Linked DNA regions of Homo sapiens: region 2 is linked to region 1. The links are contacts of gene promoters, found by promoter capture Hi-C in blood cells and fetal thymus (Javierre and others, 2016). All regions are on one chromosome and are shown on one strand. The core of a region is centred on a gene start or on the middle of the fragment in contact, and the rest is flanking DNA. Distances in the headings are between cores, read along the strand shown.

Region 1 (7,906 bases), core at 2,357-4,856:
GGTTTTCTTTTGTTTTCTATTGATTTCTCAACCTGACTATTCTTCTAATAAAAACAACATATTGATTATTGTTACTTTGCAAAACTTTTTTTTAAGTCTAGGAGGTTCCAGAGCCCTAGGGTTAATCTTCATTTGTAAACATCTACGCCTATTCACAAGAATTTATGCTTCCCCATAAACTTAAGTATGGTTTCAAGTTCCCTTAACCTCCATAACCACACCATATTAAAAATGGATTTTGGGTATAATACACCTTAGGGATAAATTAAATAAATATTAAATATTGAGTAAATAGTGACATCTTCACCACATAGTCTTCATGTATTGTGATATGTGCATATTCATGTATTGTGAGTATGTGTATATTCAAGCATTTTTATATGCCTCTGAAAAGTTACATAGATTTCTCTTCTAAAGCTCTGCCTCTCTCTTGTTTATTTATAGCAATGGTGTGATTTTGTTGATATTAATAATAGAAAATGCAGCATGTCTAACTGATTGTTGCTAGCATATAATAAAAATATCATTTACTATCACTTACTAACCTTGTGGCTTTTAATGGTTACTTAATCTCTCTTAGCTTCAATCTTTTTACAAAATTAGAAAATAAAATATGTATAATGGCCATCTGAAAGGGACTTATGAAAAATAAGTGACAATACATGTAATCTACTAGGTATAGGAAATAGAGTAAATATTAAAAAACAGAAACCATTATTTCCTCCAATGATGTATTTTGTATTTGTCAAGCCAGAAGTTTGGGTACTGCTGTCACCTGTACTCCAAGACACCCTAGTGTCAAAGCCCTACAGTTGTTCGGACTAGCCTCTGAACAATAGGGAAAAATCATGGCTCAGATGCTCGTGGATGGGGCAAAGTGGTGCAGGGATCCACATTGTCTCACCCCAAGCCTCTGCTCCCCATGTCATCTCAGAGCAAGAACCCAATACACAAAGAAGAGCTGTTTCATATCCCAGAGTGGCAGGATTAGACCTTCCTTTGCAGAATAATTATACCTTACCCCCTCAACTGAAATAGACCTCTGAGGCCTGGAAGGGGGACATACATTTGCCAGAGGTCACCCAATACGTGGGGAGGCAAAGCCAGTGCTGAGATCACCTGACTGTCAAGCCTGTGCTTATTCCCCTTCACCCAGGCTGCTCCCCTCCTGGGGGCTGTGGCCTTCTCTGAGAGTTTCCTTGTGCAATCGCAGTGGGACGAGTGGGTCAACAGGAGAGCCATGAGGTTGCTCATATTCCTGCCCCTTTCTCCACTACTCAAGTCTGCCCTGCCCCCAACATGTATGTCTCCAGAGAATGCTATTCACCCAAACCTCTGACACCATAGTATGAAGGACTTAGTGTATCTTGCCTCCTCATTCACATCTTAAAACAGAAATCTGGAAGAGAATATTGCTTAACCTAAAGGAATGCTACTTCATGGAGGAATCTCAGGCATAAACCAGTGAAATTCTAAAGAGCAGGAGTTTCGCAGCATCTGTAACATCATCCTTTCTATGTGGTGTTGAAAAGATATAGATTCCTGGGAAACATTAATGAGAAGGAAGTGGGGAGCTGTAGTTGCAGCCATAAGGGTTGGCTGGTCACACTGGTAAGGCCGACAGTAGCCAGGTCAGGACTGATGGTGGATTGGAAAAAAAAGACCTGCTTATGGTTTATGTAATGTTTATTTATTTTTTGTGTTTTGTGTTTTTCCTGGTCCTTGGCCAAAGGCAAGATTTCCATATTTCCATTTCCTGGTGAAAAGGAGCTGGCAGCACTGGGGCTGATTATTGGATTTGTAATATGAAGCCCTAGCAATGTGCCTCCTGTTTCCTCCCCCCGCCCTGCTCTCTTTCACCATGGGACCGTTTCCCCTCTTCACTGGAGAGAAGAAGTCCCAATTCTACATCCATTTCCCCAAAGCATCCAGGAGCCCAGAAGTCATAGGAACCAGAAACAAGTGGAGCAGAAGGAACTCTTTATTGGAAAGTGGATGAGAGAGGCAGCTCCAGCCGTGGGCATCCTGAATGGGAGGAAGAATGGACAGTGTGGGAAGGGGAAGGGCAGCAGGGACTTAGGACCAGATGGGGCCTGTAGCTCTGGGGACGGCACAGGTGCAGCAAGGACCGGCTCCCTCTGTGGAAGAGAAGAGTATCAGAGGTGAGAGTCAGCACATCAAAGCACTCAGAGGCAGTGAGGAAGACAGATCATCCTTCTAGGCACTCTGGTTATAGCCTCTCAGACCCCTCAGTCTCCCAGTCTTTCTGTCACCTCCCACAACCTCCCTCCCACCAACCTGGGATGCTTCCCCACCGCTCAGCCTTCTTTTGTGTCTTCAGGGGTCTCCTCGTTCTCCAGCTAGTGCTCACCTCACTGGGGAACGAAACAGGCCATCCCGCAAGAGCCTTCACAGCACTTCTTGATTCCTGGGCAGTCAGTATCTTTCAAGCAGCGGTTAGGGGGATTCAACATGGCGCACCGGATCAAGATAATGGGGCAGGAGCCAGGCTTAGTGGAGACTGGACCTTTGACTGGCTCTTGCGCTTTGACTTTATCTTGACCTTTAACTGAAACTTGTCCTTTAACGGGATCTTGTCCATTGAATGGAACACGGCCTTTGACAGTGTCTTGACCTTTAACAGGAACTGTTAAAAGAAGAAACGAGCCCACATTTATACCCAGTAAGCCTCTGCTTCAGCTGCCATGTCTTTCCTCTGGGTCTGGGTCCATCCACTGCTTACTGCAGCATCCTCAAACCATGGCCTGAGTAGGGAAGGTACACCTCTGGGAGCTACACTCTTGGAAGGCTCTTCCTTTTTTGGGGTGGTCTACTGGACCAGAGTTCCCTTGAGTATTTGTTTCTTCCCCCTTCCTCCACTCCAAGTCTCTCAGGAGCAGTGGTCAGACTGGGGTGACACCCAGCAGTGAAGAGGACACATTGTCATTTGTTAGGAAGTGCATTGGAGTAGGAAAGAACCCTGAGCCACATACTAGGAGACTTGAGCCCCATCCTGGCTCTGGGAATTACCTTGGCAATTGCTCACTCATTTCTACATTTTTGGTTCCCTCCTTATAAAATGGGGGTCCTCAAACAACATGATTCCTGAAGGCTTGTTGTTTCTTAACCTCCTTTTAGAGTACTGATTACTCCAGTGCTTTTATGGGGCAGAGAAACGGGGGACTGTGTCCACACCCAAGGTTTAAAATCCTGGAGTTCATTATTTTATTGCACATTCTGCACAGGTATTGACATCTGAGGCCAAGGCCACATACCAACATTACTTCCACAAACAGTCCTGATATCTCAGTCACTGAGGTGGAAAGCACGTGGAGTCCACCAGCCAAAGTCCTATTTTTTCTGAATATGATGGCAAAGAACAGAAAGCTGAAATCTGGGCTCCAGTGCTGCCTACTGCTTCAGAAGTGCTCCCTGTCCTGGCCCAGGGTGTCCCAGAGGGTCTCCCCTTAGTCCAACCCAGCCCAGCAGGTCACCTGTTCACTCACCTCCCGTGACAGCTGCCTCTAGAACCAGCGTCCCAGCGATGAGGAACACCACCACGATCAAGAAGCTGCTGGCCCTCATGGTGTCAGGAAGGTGTTTGGCTAAGAGCTAAGGCCATACCAATCTTTATGCAGTCCAGCTTGGCCTGGCTCCAGGGGCGGGTCTGTGGTATTTACAAGGGATAATTCCTTAGCTGTATTGGGAAATATCCACCCCATTCTGGGAGGGACCTGGGGGCTTTCCCTCAGGATTATTCACAGGAAGAACTAATGGACATTACATCACATCATCTCTGATTGTCCCAAGAGTTTTCCTACTTTCTCACAGAGTAGAAGTGCTGGCTCACTTATTAGGTAACATTACAATGAAATTCTTCATGTTTTGAAATACAGTGAGACCCAAGAAGAGAAAGGAATCACCGAAGGTTATTCAGCAAGTCACTGGTAGATCCAGTCTTGATTACAAAACCAAGGTGTTTCTCCATTATGCTCTGGTGCTACAAACCCCACCCAGATCTACTTTATCATTTTACCACTCCCAGCATCAAACTGGGCATTTCCTTCCTTCTTCCCTGGTCCTGCAAAAAACTCTGTAAGACAAATTTGCCTTGAATACATAATGACTAATTATTGCACTTTGCTGTTTCAGAGACGGCCTTTCAGATGCATCAAGAAAGTAATTGGAAGGTGGAATTCTAGGTCTGAAGAGGGATGATGCCCTTGAAATCACAGTGGTAGGGAGAAAATAATCAGAAAGTAGTAGAAAACATGTATCATGTATACATTGGACATCTACAGTGTGTGTGTCCAGCATGCCTCCCCACTTCTTTGAACAGCACCCTGTTTCTTGTGAAGAATTGTTGTCTCTTTGAACCATCAACTTGTGAGTCTAATGGGGACTGCTAATCATGAAAGCCTGACCCCTGACCACAGGTAGGGGTGTGTGTGTGTGTGTGTGTGTGTGAGTGTGTGTGTGTGTGTTGTGTGTGAGACTTGGTCTGGTCTATTAACATATTTTATTTGAATGAGTAATGAAAGGGGAAAACGGGGGTTCCTTCTTCTGGAAAAGGTGATATATATGAACCAGGGAATTCCAGAAGTGGTTATCTAAGTCTGGGGGTGGAGATCAATTGTCTGAGAAAAACGACTCTAATACACTGAGACAAGGAGAGAAGTGATGGTGAGAGAAGATTCAGATGACACAGCCAGGTTTCCCTCCTTTACCTTGAGAGCAGTTCTTCACACACCCTTCTCATGGTTGGGTTATGAGGCAATAAATTAGCCCTCTGCTTCAGCTAGTCTGACTTACTATTCTGTCATTGTTACCAAAAGTTCTGAGTAATAGAAATGAATATCCTGAAGTTGGGTATTGTCAGGGACAGAATCTGAGTTAAGAAAGTCACTGAGTTGAGGTGGAGTTAAGGCAGGGAAGGTAACAAACTAATTATTGGACACTAATTCAGCTGGTGAAATCCCCACCCCTTGTCGATTTAGACTCTGACCACATGCCCACCAAGCCTGAAACTGAGGGAGACATAAACGAATGTCAGACTGTGGAAGCCTTTGGCTACCTTACACAAAAGCTCATTGTACAATAAGCCATACAAACAAATAAAAAGCTCACAGAAAATACCTATATTCTTTAAAGAATAGCATTAAAATGAGCTGCCAGGTAAAGGAGGAGAATATTTGCTATATCTATGCTCCATGCCTCTCCTCAGTTGCTTCATTCTCCTTCCTCCCCAGAGATAACTGCTTCCTAAGATTTTATGGTAATTAGCCCTTGCTTTCCTTTATAGTTATGCCACTTCTGTCTGTATTCTGAAATATATATTCAGTTTAGTATACTTTTTCAATTTGTATGTAAATGAAATCTAAGGTATAGTGTTCATATGTCCTGCTTATGTTGCTCAACATTATATTTTTGAGAGTCATCCATTTTGAAGTCTACACCTGTAGTTCATCATTTTCACTGCTGTACAGTATTCTATGAAAAATACCAAAAATGTTATATATTCATTCTACTGTCAATATACATTGGATATTTCTAGGTTTTAGCTATTATAGTGTTGCTATGAATATTCTTGTACATATCTCTTGCAGAACATAGGTATGCATTTATTTTGGATATATGGTTAGGAATGGAATTGCTGGATCACAGAGTACAGATCACAGAGTATAGATACATCCAGCTGTCATAAATACTGCAATCAATTTTCCAACATCATTGTACCAATTCACACTGCTATCAGCAATGTGTGAGCATTCCATTTGCTCCATAATCTCACCAATGCCTCATATGATTTGCCTTTTCATTAGCCATTCAGGTGGACATCTTGTGGGATTTCCTGTGATTTGAATTTACACTTTCCTAATAACTGGTGAAGCTGACCCATTTTTAATACTCCTTTTTTTTTTTTTTTTTTTTTTGAGATGGAATTTCGCTCTTGTCACCCAGGCTGGAGTTCAATGGCACAATCTCAGCTCACTGCAACCTCCACCTCCCAGGTTCAAGTGATTCTCTTGCCTCAGCCTCCCAAGTAGCTGGGATTACAGGCACATGCCACCATGCCCAGCTAATTTTTATATTTTGCAGTTTCACCATGTTGGTCAGGCTTGTCTCGAACCGCTGACCTCAGATGATGCACCTGCCTTGGCCTCCCAAAGTGCTAGGATTACAGACATGAGCCACTGCACCCGGCCCATTTTTAATATTTCTATTATCCATTTGGCTATCCTCTTTTGTGAAGTGCCAATTCAAGTATCTTACCTTTTATTTACTTATTTATTTAATTTCAACTTTTATTTTAGATTTGAATGGGTTGTTTATCTTTTCTTATTGATTTGTAGTAGAAAAGAAACTTTTATGCATTACTAATGAGAGTCTATATTGGTGAAACATTTAAAAACAGTTTGACATCAGCTAGTAAAATTGAATGTGTACACAATCTATAATTCAGCAATTGCACTCCTAAAGATTTAATTAAGGAAAATATTTCCACATGTTTACCAAGAAACATGCACAATAATGTTCATAAAAGTACTGTTTTTAACAATAACATACTGGAAACAGTCCATGTTACCAATACTAAAATACTGGATAAATATGTCATGACATATTAATGCATAAATATGTCATGACATATTAATGCAAGGAAGTATTATACAATTATGAAAATAACTGAATTACAGCCATGCACAATATGACCATAATTAAAATAATGTTGAATAAACAACACAAGTCCACAGTGACAATATTTAGAATTACCCACTTGTCATAAAACTCAAATGAAGGAGAACTGGGAAATATATTGCCTAGGCATATTTACATATGAAGCAAAGCTCAAAAAGGGATACATAAAAAATGAAAAAACTATAAAAATGACATACAAGATAGTGGCTAACTCTGGAAACGAGAGAAGAAAACATTCTGGATGGGTGAGAAGGACACGGGTTGATTTAAGTTGTTGGTTATTAGTAATGTTCTAGTTCTTTGATTGCTTGGAGAGAGAGAGAGAGAGAGAAAGCTGCAGAGCGAATCATTTATAGACTACCTTAGCTTTCAATAAACCCACATTGCTACCCTCGCAAGTTGTTTCCAATATTTTGCCATTACAAACTATACCACATGTGGCCTTTCTTAGCTTGCTTTCTTGTGAACCAGATTCCCAGAAGTATATTTGCTTATACAAAGGTGAAATGCATTTGAAATTTTGATAATATTGCCATATTTCCCTTGATAGGGGTTGTACCATATTGTAATCCCACCAGTAGTGGATAAACTTGCCTGCTGTTTCCATCAAGCCTCATGAACAGACTGTGTGTCTAATTTTGGGGTTTTATTTTTAACTTTTATTTTAGTTTCAGGGGTACATGTGCAGGTTTGTTGTATAGGTAAATTTCATGTCATGGGGGGGTTCGTGTGCAGAAGTATTTCATCACCAGGTAATCAGCATAGTACTCGATTCGTGTTTTGATCCTCACGCTCCTCCCATTCTCTACCCTCAAGTAGGCCCTAGTGTCCATTGTTCCCTTCTTTGTGTCCATATGTACTCAATGTTCAGTTTTCATTTATACGTGAGAAAATGTGGTATTTTCTTTTCTGTTCTTGTGAAAGTTTGCTTAGGATAATGGCCTCCAGCTCCATCCATGTTGCTGCAAAGGACATGATCTTGTTCTTTTTTATGACTCGTAGTATTCTATGGTGTTTACATACCACATTTTCTTTATCCAGTCTATCATTGATGAGCAATTAGGTTGATTCTATGTCTTTGATACTGTGAATAGTTCTGTGATTCACATACTACATGGATGTGTCTTTATGATAGAATGATTTATATTCCTTTGGGTATATAACCATTAATGGAATATCTTGGGTTGAATGGTAATTCTGTTTTAAGTTC
Region 2 (7,906 bases), core at 1,822-4,321, 60 kb after region 1:
TCTGTTCACTACTGCCCCTTGTGTATGACAGGTTAATAGATTCTTAATATATAAACAGCTCTTAAAACTCAAAAATAAAAGGACCCCCAATAAAAATGAGCAAAATACAAAAACAGGCAATTCACAGAGAAAGGATACAGTCAGTATGCGAATATGAAGAAATGCTCACCATCATGGGTATTAAGAGGAAGAGGAAGACAAATTAAAATGAAATATTGTTTTCCGTTAGCAAAGATTTTATTTACTTATTTTTTTAATATCCTGTATGTAGTAAGAATATCCACTAAGGATCTTTGGCTGTGAGCAACAGCATCTGAGCTTTGGACTGTTCTGTTTAGAGAACTGGCTTATCTGTTCAAGACTCTAATGAAGGCGTGGGCAAGTTAGGGGTGGAGAAGAGTGCAGTGGGTGTAACCTGGATCCAGTGCCCTCAGCTTTGATAGGAGAAGTACCTGCTGATTGGCAACCAACCAGAATGACAGCAGTCAGGAGGCAATGGTTCCACCAAAGGAAGAGACGCTGGGCAGACGAAACAATAGAGGTCTATGGCAGGGCAGGTGGAGGCTCTTGTACACTCACTTACTTCCTTTCTGAAATTTAATTTGACCAGATATATCCAACGCCTGGAAACATGACTGTGCCTTTTGACCTAGCATTTCTAACTTTGACAAATTTACTTTAAGAAAACAGTCAGAGATGTGACTCCAAAATGTACACAAAAAGATGGTTATCACAGCTTTATTTATGAAAGTGGAAAATTGGAAACCTCCATGTTTCATAATAGGATACTGATTGTGTATATTTTGGCATATCTTTTTTCCCTAAAAACTTTACTGAAGTGATGTTTTGACATATAGATCTAACAAAACAGCATGTAGCCATCAGAAAACATGATGTTTAGAGAACATTTCACAGCACAGGAAAATGTCTACAAAATAATTTTAATTTAAAAAGCATTGGCATGGTGGCTCATGCCTGTAATCCCAACACTTTGGGAGGCCGAGGCGGGTGGATCACCTGAATTCAGGAGTTTAAGACCAGCCTGACCAACATGGTGAAACCCCGTCTCTACTAAAAATACAAAAAATTAGCCAGGCATGGTGGCGGGCGCCTGTGGTCCCAGCTACTTGGGAGGCTGAGGCAGAGAATTGCTAGAACCCAGGAGACGGAGGTTGCAATGAGCAGAGATTGCCCCATTGCACTCCAGCCTGGATGACAGAGGAAGACTCCGTCTCAAAAAAAAAAAAAAAAAAAAAAAAAAGAGCATTTCATGGCTGAGCACAGTGGCTCACCCCTGGAATCCCAGCACTTTGGGAGGCCAAGGTGGGAGAATCACTTGAGTCCTAGAGTTAGAGACCAGCCTAGGCAACATAGGAAGACCCCCCATCTCTACAAAAAATAAAAACTAGCCAAATATTGGGGCGCATGCCTATAGTCCCAGGTACTCAGGAGGCTGAGGCAGGAGGACTACTTGGGTCCATGAGGTCAAGGGTTCAGTGAGCCATGATGGCACTGTGCACTCCAGCCTGGGTGACATAGCGACATTCTGTCAAAGACAGAGAGAGAAAGAGAAAGAGAGAGAGGAAAGAAGAAGGAGAAGGAGAGAAAGAAAGAAAGAAAGAAAGAAAGAAGGAGAAAGGAAAGAAAGAGAGGAAAGAAGGAAAGAAAGAAGAAAGAAATAAAAAAGGAAAGAAAGAAGAAAGAAAAAGAAAGAAGAAAGAAAGAAAAGAAAGAAAGAGAAAGGAAAGAAAGAGAGGAAAGAAGGAAAGAAAGAAGAAAGAAATGAAAAAAGGAAAGAAAGAAAAAGAAAAAGAAAGAAAGAAAAGAAAAAAGAAAGAAAGAGGGAGGGAGGGGTGGAGGGAGGGAGGGGTGGAGGGAGGGAGGAAGGAAGGGCTCATATATTTGTCCTCCAAAATAAAGCTTCCAAGGAGGTGCCAGCATTCCAAAAGCAACATCAGATCATAGAAGACAGAGCCTCTCCTATCTTAATAGCTTAGAAGACAGCACGAGAGATTCACATTAAACCCAAGGAAGAACTTCCTGCTGCCAGGGCTGTCCTGGATTGGAATGGGTAAGTGAGACAAGCCCTGTAATATCACCCTCCTTTCTCAGGATCAGATGAGGTATTGACCTGCTTTTAAAACCCAGGAACTGAATGAGGGTGATGGGGAGGCCACAGTGGGAAGTCCCAGCTTAGTCAGGAATTAGCTGCGTGTCCTTGGGCCAGTCCCCTCTCATCTCTATCTCACAGTTTCCTCGTCTTTCAAATGAGAAGGCTGAGAGAATGTACTTCGATGGAGTTTCTGTTTAGGATGTCCCTTAGGATGCCAAGTCTCAGCTCCCTCTCTTCTACCAAATGCAGGAGGCAACATCAGAGATACGAAATCTAAGGTGGGGGTCCCTGGATGAGATGACATTTTTTTGCTCAGGATCCCTTAGGGCCAGAGAAGAGGTTCCAGTGGCCACACATCTGCTGTGACCAGCAAACTTAGCCAAGCCAAAAGCCATGCTCCCCCACCCTCAACAGCCAAGCCAGCCCCAGGAAGAGGGCAGTTCTATCAGAAGCCACTGGTGATCTCACCAAAGGCGGGGTGGTCTTTCTCCCATCCACAGGACCCAAGAGGAGAGGCCAGGGCTGGCCTCACTCATTATGCCAGCCTGGGCCAGCCTTCTTTGGCTGCAAGCTCTGGCCTAACCCTAATGCCTTCTCCCTTCCTAGGCATCCAGAACTCTGCAAACCCCCACTCCTTTGCTATTCAAAGCTGACCTCTACCCGCTGCCTAGACATCGCTGGGGCTTCAACATCTTTGAGAGCCAGGATAGCAAGCATCTGCCTCAACAACCTTCACCCTGTGTACAGATGAAAAAACTGAAGCCCAGAGAGACAAGACTTGCCCAAGATCACAGCCCAAGTCACCGATACAGGCAAGACTGGATCTGAGTCCCCCACATGCAGGATGTGCCGCCACCCTATCTTCAGCTATTGTGACAGCATCCCTTGCACTGAGTCCTCGGGCCCTCAGGGGGTGGGGCCAAGATGAAGCAGGCACGGTGTCACTCCACACCCCCTCTCTTTCCTCTCCTGACTAAGTTTCTCTGGCTTCCCTGAGGCTGCAGGTGTTAATCTGGGGGGCCCTGGGCCCTGAGCCGGCAGCAGAAATATGAGGACCCAGAGCCTTCTCCTCCTGGGGGCCCTCCTGGCTGTGGGGAGTCAGCTGCCTGCTGTCTTTGGCAGGAAGAAGGGAGGTGAGTGCGGGAAATCCCTCTGCTGGGGGGACCAGATTGTCTCTACTTCTCTAGGGAGAGTAAGGGTTTGGGGGAAGGCAGGTAATGCCCTGTGGGGTGTGTGTGCGCGTGTGTGTGTGCGTGCGTGCGTGTGTGTATGTGTGGATGCCTGATTCTTAGTGCTTTCAGAAGCCTGTGTTTTTATGTGTGTACATTTGTGCCTGTCCACCTGCCTGTGTTGGTATCTGTAAGTGTCTTTTCTGCCAGTTTCTCGGTGCTTGTCTGTGCCTGTCTATATGTCAGGGGGTGGCAGGGCGGGGAATGCATGTGCCTGTGTCTGTGTAGACATGTGTCTTTGCGTCTGCTTGTCTGTGCAAAGCTCTGTCTGCACACGTACACTTAGGAATGGCTGCACGCATGTGTCTGAGCTTGGTGCCTGTCCATGTGTGTCTCTGTGCCTTCAGGTGTGGGGAGGGACCCTGTCTGTGCCTGCTGGGCTGTGGTGTGACTGGGTCAGTGGGTCCACCACCCCATCTGTGGAAGGGACTTGGGAATTGAGGAGAGGGTGTGGCTTCTGGGATCTGGGCTTTGTGGGGAGGAAGCTCTGTCTCTAACTCTCATCGCCCCCAACCTCCTGTCCCCATTCCCACCCCTGACAAGGCTGGGGCTGGCCTGCTGACAGGTGAGGGAGGGCTGCTGAGTGGCTAGACAGGTGACTCCTGATCTGGGTGAGGCCTCCACCTGCGTCCTTTTCTGGGGCTGGAACACTCCAACCTACATTCACCTGTGCAACCCTTGCCCTGCCTTAAAGAAAGGGGACAGTAATGGGGACAGGCTGAGGAAGGAAGTACACTGGTGAGCTCCAAGGCTGGACCCTGTGTTGGCTGTGATTCATGCACCATCATCACGTAACTCCTCGACAAGGTGCTGTGAGGACAGGACTATTTTCATCCCCATTTTGCAGATGAGGAAAATTGAGGCATAGCGGGGAACCACTTAACAAGGTCAAAGACTGACTCTGAGTTAGTGCCAAATGTGGCATTTGAATGCAAGTATTTGAAATCAGAAAGATTCACCTTACCAACTATTACAGCAAAAACCCAGGACTGTACAGGACAATGCACCCCCAACATAGGAAGGAGCTGAGAGACCAGAGAATGACTTAGACAAGGCCAGATTAGCAAGTGCATGAGTGCAAGTATTTGAAATCAGAAAGATTCACTTTACCAACTATTACAGCAAAAACCCAGGACTGTACAGGACAATGCACCCCCAACATAGGAAGGAGCTGAGAGAACAAAGAATGACTTAGACAAGGCCAGATTGGCAAGTGCATGAGTTTATTAGGACTTCCAGGCAGGACACTCCTGGAAGGCAACAGGACAGGTCTGGAGACTTACTCCTTGTAAAATGGGGTCCCATGCCTCTCTCTCAGGAGTAAATGGTGTCTCGAGGAATAAGGGCCTGGCACACAGTAAGCACAGCATAAGTGGGTGATTTGGGGGAGTCATTGTGTTCCCAGGGAGCACACCCCAATATTCAGCCCAGCTGCTCAGAGGCAAAGAGCTGGCACAGCAGAAACCGAGCCTGCGCAGGGCCACTCTGCATGGGCAGGTGTGACAAGCTTGTCTCTCCCCCAGTTCACCACACCTTGTCCCCCACTGGTTTCTCTCCTGTAAGACATTGCCGAGCTGTTGGTAGAATTTCAGACAATGGAGGAAGGTGACGAAGCCAAGGGAAGGGAAGTCTCAGTTTGTTGCCTGTGGAAGCCCAGCCGCCTCTGTTTATAAGAGCTCCCCATTCTGCCCCCTTCTCACTCAAACGTCTGGGTGTCTCTGATACAAAGAGCCTGGCATAGTCCCTGATAAACAGCAAGTGCCTAATTAAATGCTGTCAGTGGTTATGTGGTATTGGGAAGATATATGTGTCTGTGTAGCTCTGTGCATATGATTCTGTATATATGACTGTGTATGCTTATGTATGTCTCTCTGTTCACATACATATGCTATATATTTATATATTTATATACATAACTGTGTGTGTCTGAGTGTCTATCTGTGTGTATGTATCTATGTGGGTAGGCATGTGTAAATGACAGTGATTATGTTCCAGCTCATATGTACATACATGACTGCCTGTTTATATATGTTTATAAATATATTGCATATATATAACTCTCTGATATATGTCCATATGTATATATGTGTGTATTAAGTTGAACCATGTAAAATTGCTACTTTTGTAGATAAAACAGTTGACTATCTGCAGTTTCCTACTGTTAAGCCTGTAGCTAATTGTGTGTCTAGATCTAAATGTGCTTGTGTATTTGACTATGTGTGTATCGTCTGTGTGTACAAGTGTATATATTTAACCATGTTTGGATACGATTCTTTTGCTCTCTAAGTCTACACACCCATGGCGCATGCATCTGGATGACCATCTGTGTGTGTGACTGTCTCGATGTACACATCTGTGAGTGGAGAACCTGGTTTGGAGGGACTGTTAGGAAAGGCAGGCAAACAGAGTGAGTGTGACCACCCAGAGCCTCTCACGCCGGCTCTGCACACGCCAGGCTTTTATCCCCACCTCCACATTGCAGCTATCGCAGTTCTTCCACTGGAAATGCCAGCTGTCATGCCCCATCCCTATCTGTCCATTCCCCAAGGCCAGCCCCAGGCCCCTCGCCACAGAAGCTCTCCCTGCCTGACCCACCCGGCTCCACCGGCTTTGAGTGCACGCAGCTCCGTTTGGCCCACCCTTTGAGGCCTGCGCACCTTTGACTTGGACTTGTGAATTCAGGGCTAAACCTTGGACCTCAGACAGTTTCCCAGGAACCCTCCCATCACCCCCACCACCCCAAACCCACACTTTTTCCCCCTCCCCACGCCAAGCCTCTCTTTCTCCAGCAGGGGGCAGCAATTTAATTTAAACCAACCCGATGTGACAGCTGAAGTTGACTTAGCGCACGTAGGATGTGAGCAAGGTGCCTACTTATGTGTGCAGCCAGCACCCAGGCAGGGGGCTGAGGGGGAGGGGCGGACACAGAGGTAAAGTCACAGAACCAGATCCAGCTGCCCCTCGGAACTCTTGAACATTTTCTCTGATGCTGGATTGAATTGAAGACCTGGGACCTGCTCCATCCCTACAGCTCAAAGACAGCTCAGGGTGGACACTCACAGAGGTCAGAGGGAGCCGGGCCCTGGGAGTCCTAAGCCCAGCCCATGTGGGTCTGGACAAGTCACTGCCCTTTTCAGGCCTTGATTTCCTCCTCTACATGGAGGAGGATACTGATTTCCAGCTTTGTGCATGAAATATGAACATGGCCCAAAATCCCAGCAAGAAGAATGTTAGGTAAGCTCTGGGACAGGACACTCTATACCATTCAGAGGAACGCCTCAGAGACAGAGTTAACGCCTGATCCTCGAAACCATGCCATTTGCAACAGTGATGAACGCAACGGTGCAGAAGACGTGGCCAGCTGTGGCTGTGACAGTGCACCAGGCTGGCCACTGCTGACGCACGTGCAATGCTGGGCCTCACTTCAAAACCCTTTCTTTCCAAGTCACTGAGCCCTACTGCTGTGCGCCAAGGGCTGTGATATGGACCAACGGTGAGCAAAGCTGGCAGGGTGTCTACTCTCCTCACCTCCAGCCAAGTGAGAGACACAGACAAACAGATGCAGCATCACAAACTCTGGAGGAAAGAAATGAGTGTGTGTGTGGGGGCCGGGGTGGGGGGGCGCTGACCTAGTTAATGTGGGGTCAGAGAAGTAGGGTCTTCTGAGGATGCGATGTTTCTGCTGAGTCCTAATGAGCTGACCAGGCGCATGGAGTACAGGAGAAGTGCACTAGGCAAAGGATGCGGCCCGAGCAAGAGCCCTGCAGAGAGAGCTGGCTTGGAGCAGATCAGGAGGCACTGAGTGGGAGGGCAGTAGAGGATGGGGCTAGAGAGATGGGCAGGGCCCAGACCAGGCATGGCCTTATTGGCCACAGTGGAGATGTTGGGCTTCATTTTCCCCTGTCATTTGTGCCATCTGAGTCTCAAACTAGCCCAGCTTCCCATTTCACAGCCAGAAAACTGAGGCTTGGAGTCATTATAAACAAACAAACAAACAAAAATAACAACTAGCCAAAAGACAGGCAAAAAGCAAGGGATGGAGAATTCAGTCTTGTCATTCCCAGGTCAGCGCTTATTACATAACCGTGAGCTTCCTCCAGCTGCAATATTAGGAGATTCTCTTACAGAGAAATCGGGGGGCTGCCCGCCAGATGATGGGCCCTGCCTCCTATCGGTGCCTGACCAGTGCGTGGAAGACAGCCAGTGTCCCTTGACCAGGAAGTGCTGCTACAGAGCTTGCTTCCGCCAGTGTGTCCCCAGGGTCTCTGGTAAATGCCTCCCCTCCACCTTGCTGACCATCCAAGCCCCAAGCTTCAGGGCCAGTGGGCAAGGACGGAGCTCACCCAGTTCCCTGTGTTGCAGTGAAGCTGGGCAGCTGCCCAGAGGACCAACTGCGCTGCCTCAGCCCCATGAACCACCTGTGTCACAAGGACTCAGACTGCTCGGGCAAAAAGCGATGCTGCCACAGCGCCTGCGGGCGGGATTGCCGGGATCCTGCCAGAGGTACGGCTCCTGGGTGCCCAGGGCAGGTGCCTCCCCTCTCCGAGCCCAGCTCTAATACTTT

The links. Contacts are between HindIII fragments. The CHiCAGO score rates a contact against its expected background, and 5 or more counts as called.
Region 2: a contact is called between the fragment with the promoter of WFDC5 here and the fragment with the promoter of PI3 in region 1, in 3 of 17 cell types (M0 macrophages, M2 macrophages and M1 macrophages). The highest score is 7.4, in M0 macrophages.

What each region holds. Positions count from the first base shown.
Region 1 is chr20:45,170,602-45,178,507 of GRCh38, reverse strand. It overlaps PI3 (peptidase inhibitor 3), which reads right to left and starts at 3,606. Exons shown (of 3, transcript NM_002638.4): 1 at 3,507-3,606; 2 at 2,372-2,647; 3 at 1,964-2,138. The coding sequence starts at 3,585. The coding sequence ends at 2,373. RefSeq lists an enhancer at 2,817-4,016. The HindIII fragment of the contact is 9,599 bases long and covers 1-7,906 here.
Region 2 is chr20:45,110,339-45,118,244 of GRCh38, reverse strand. WFDC5 (WAP four-disulfide core domain 5) reads left to right here and starts at 3,071. Exons shown (of 4, transcript NM_145652.4): 1 at 3,071-3,246; 2 at 7,470-7,610; 3 at 7,705-7,845. The coding sequence starts at 3,162. RefSeq lists enhancers at 2,634-3,133, 3,134-3,635. The HindIII fragment of the contact is 2,929 bases long and covers 1,923-4,851 here.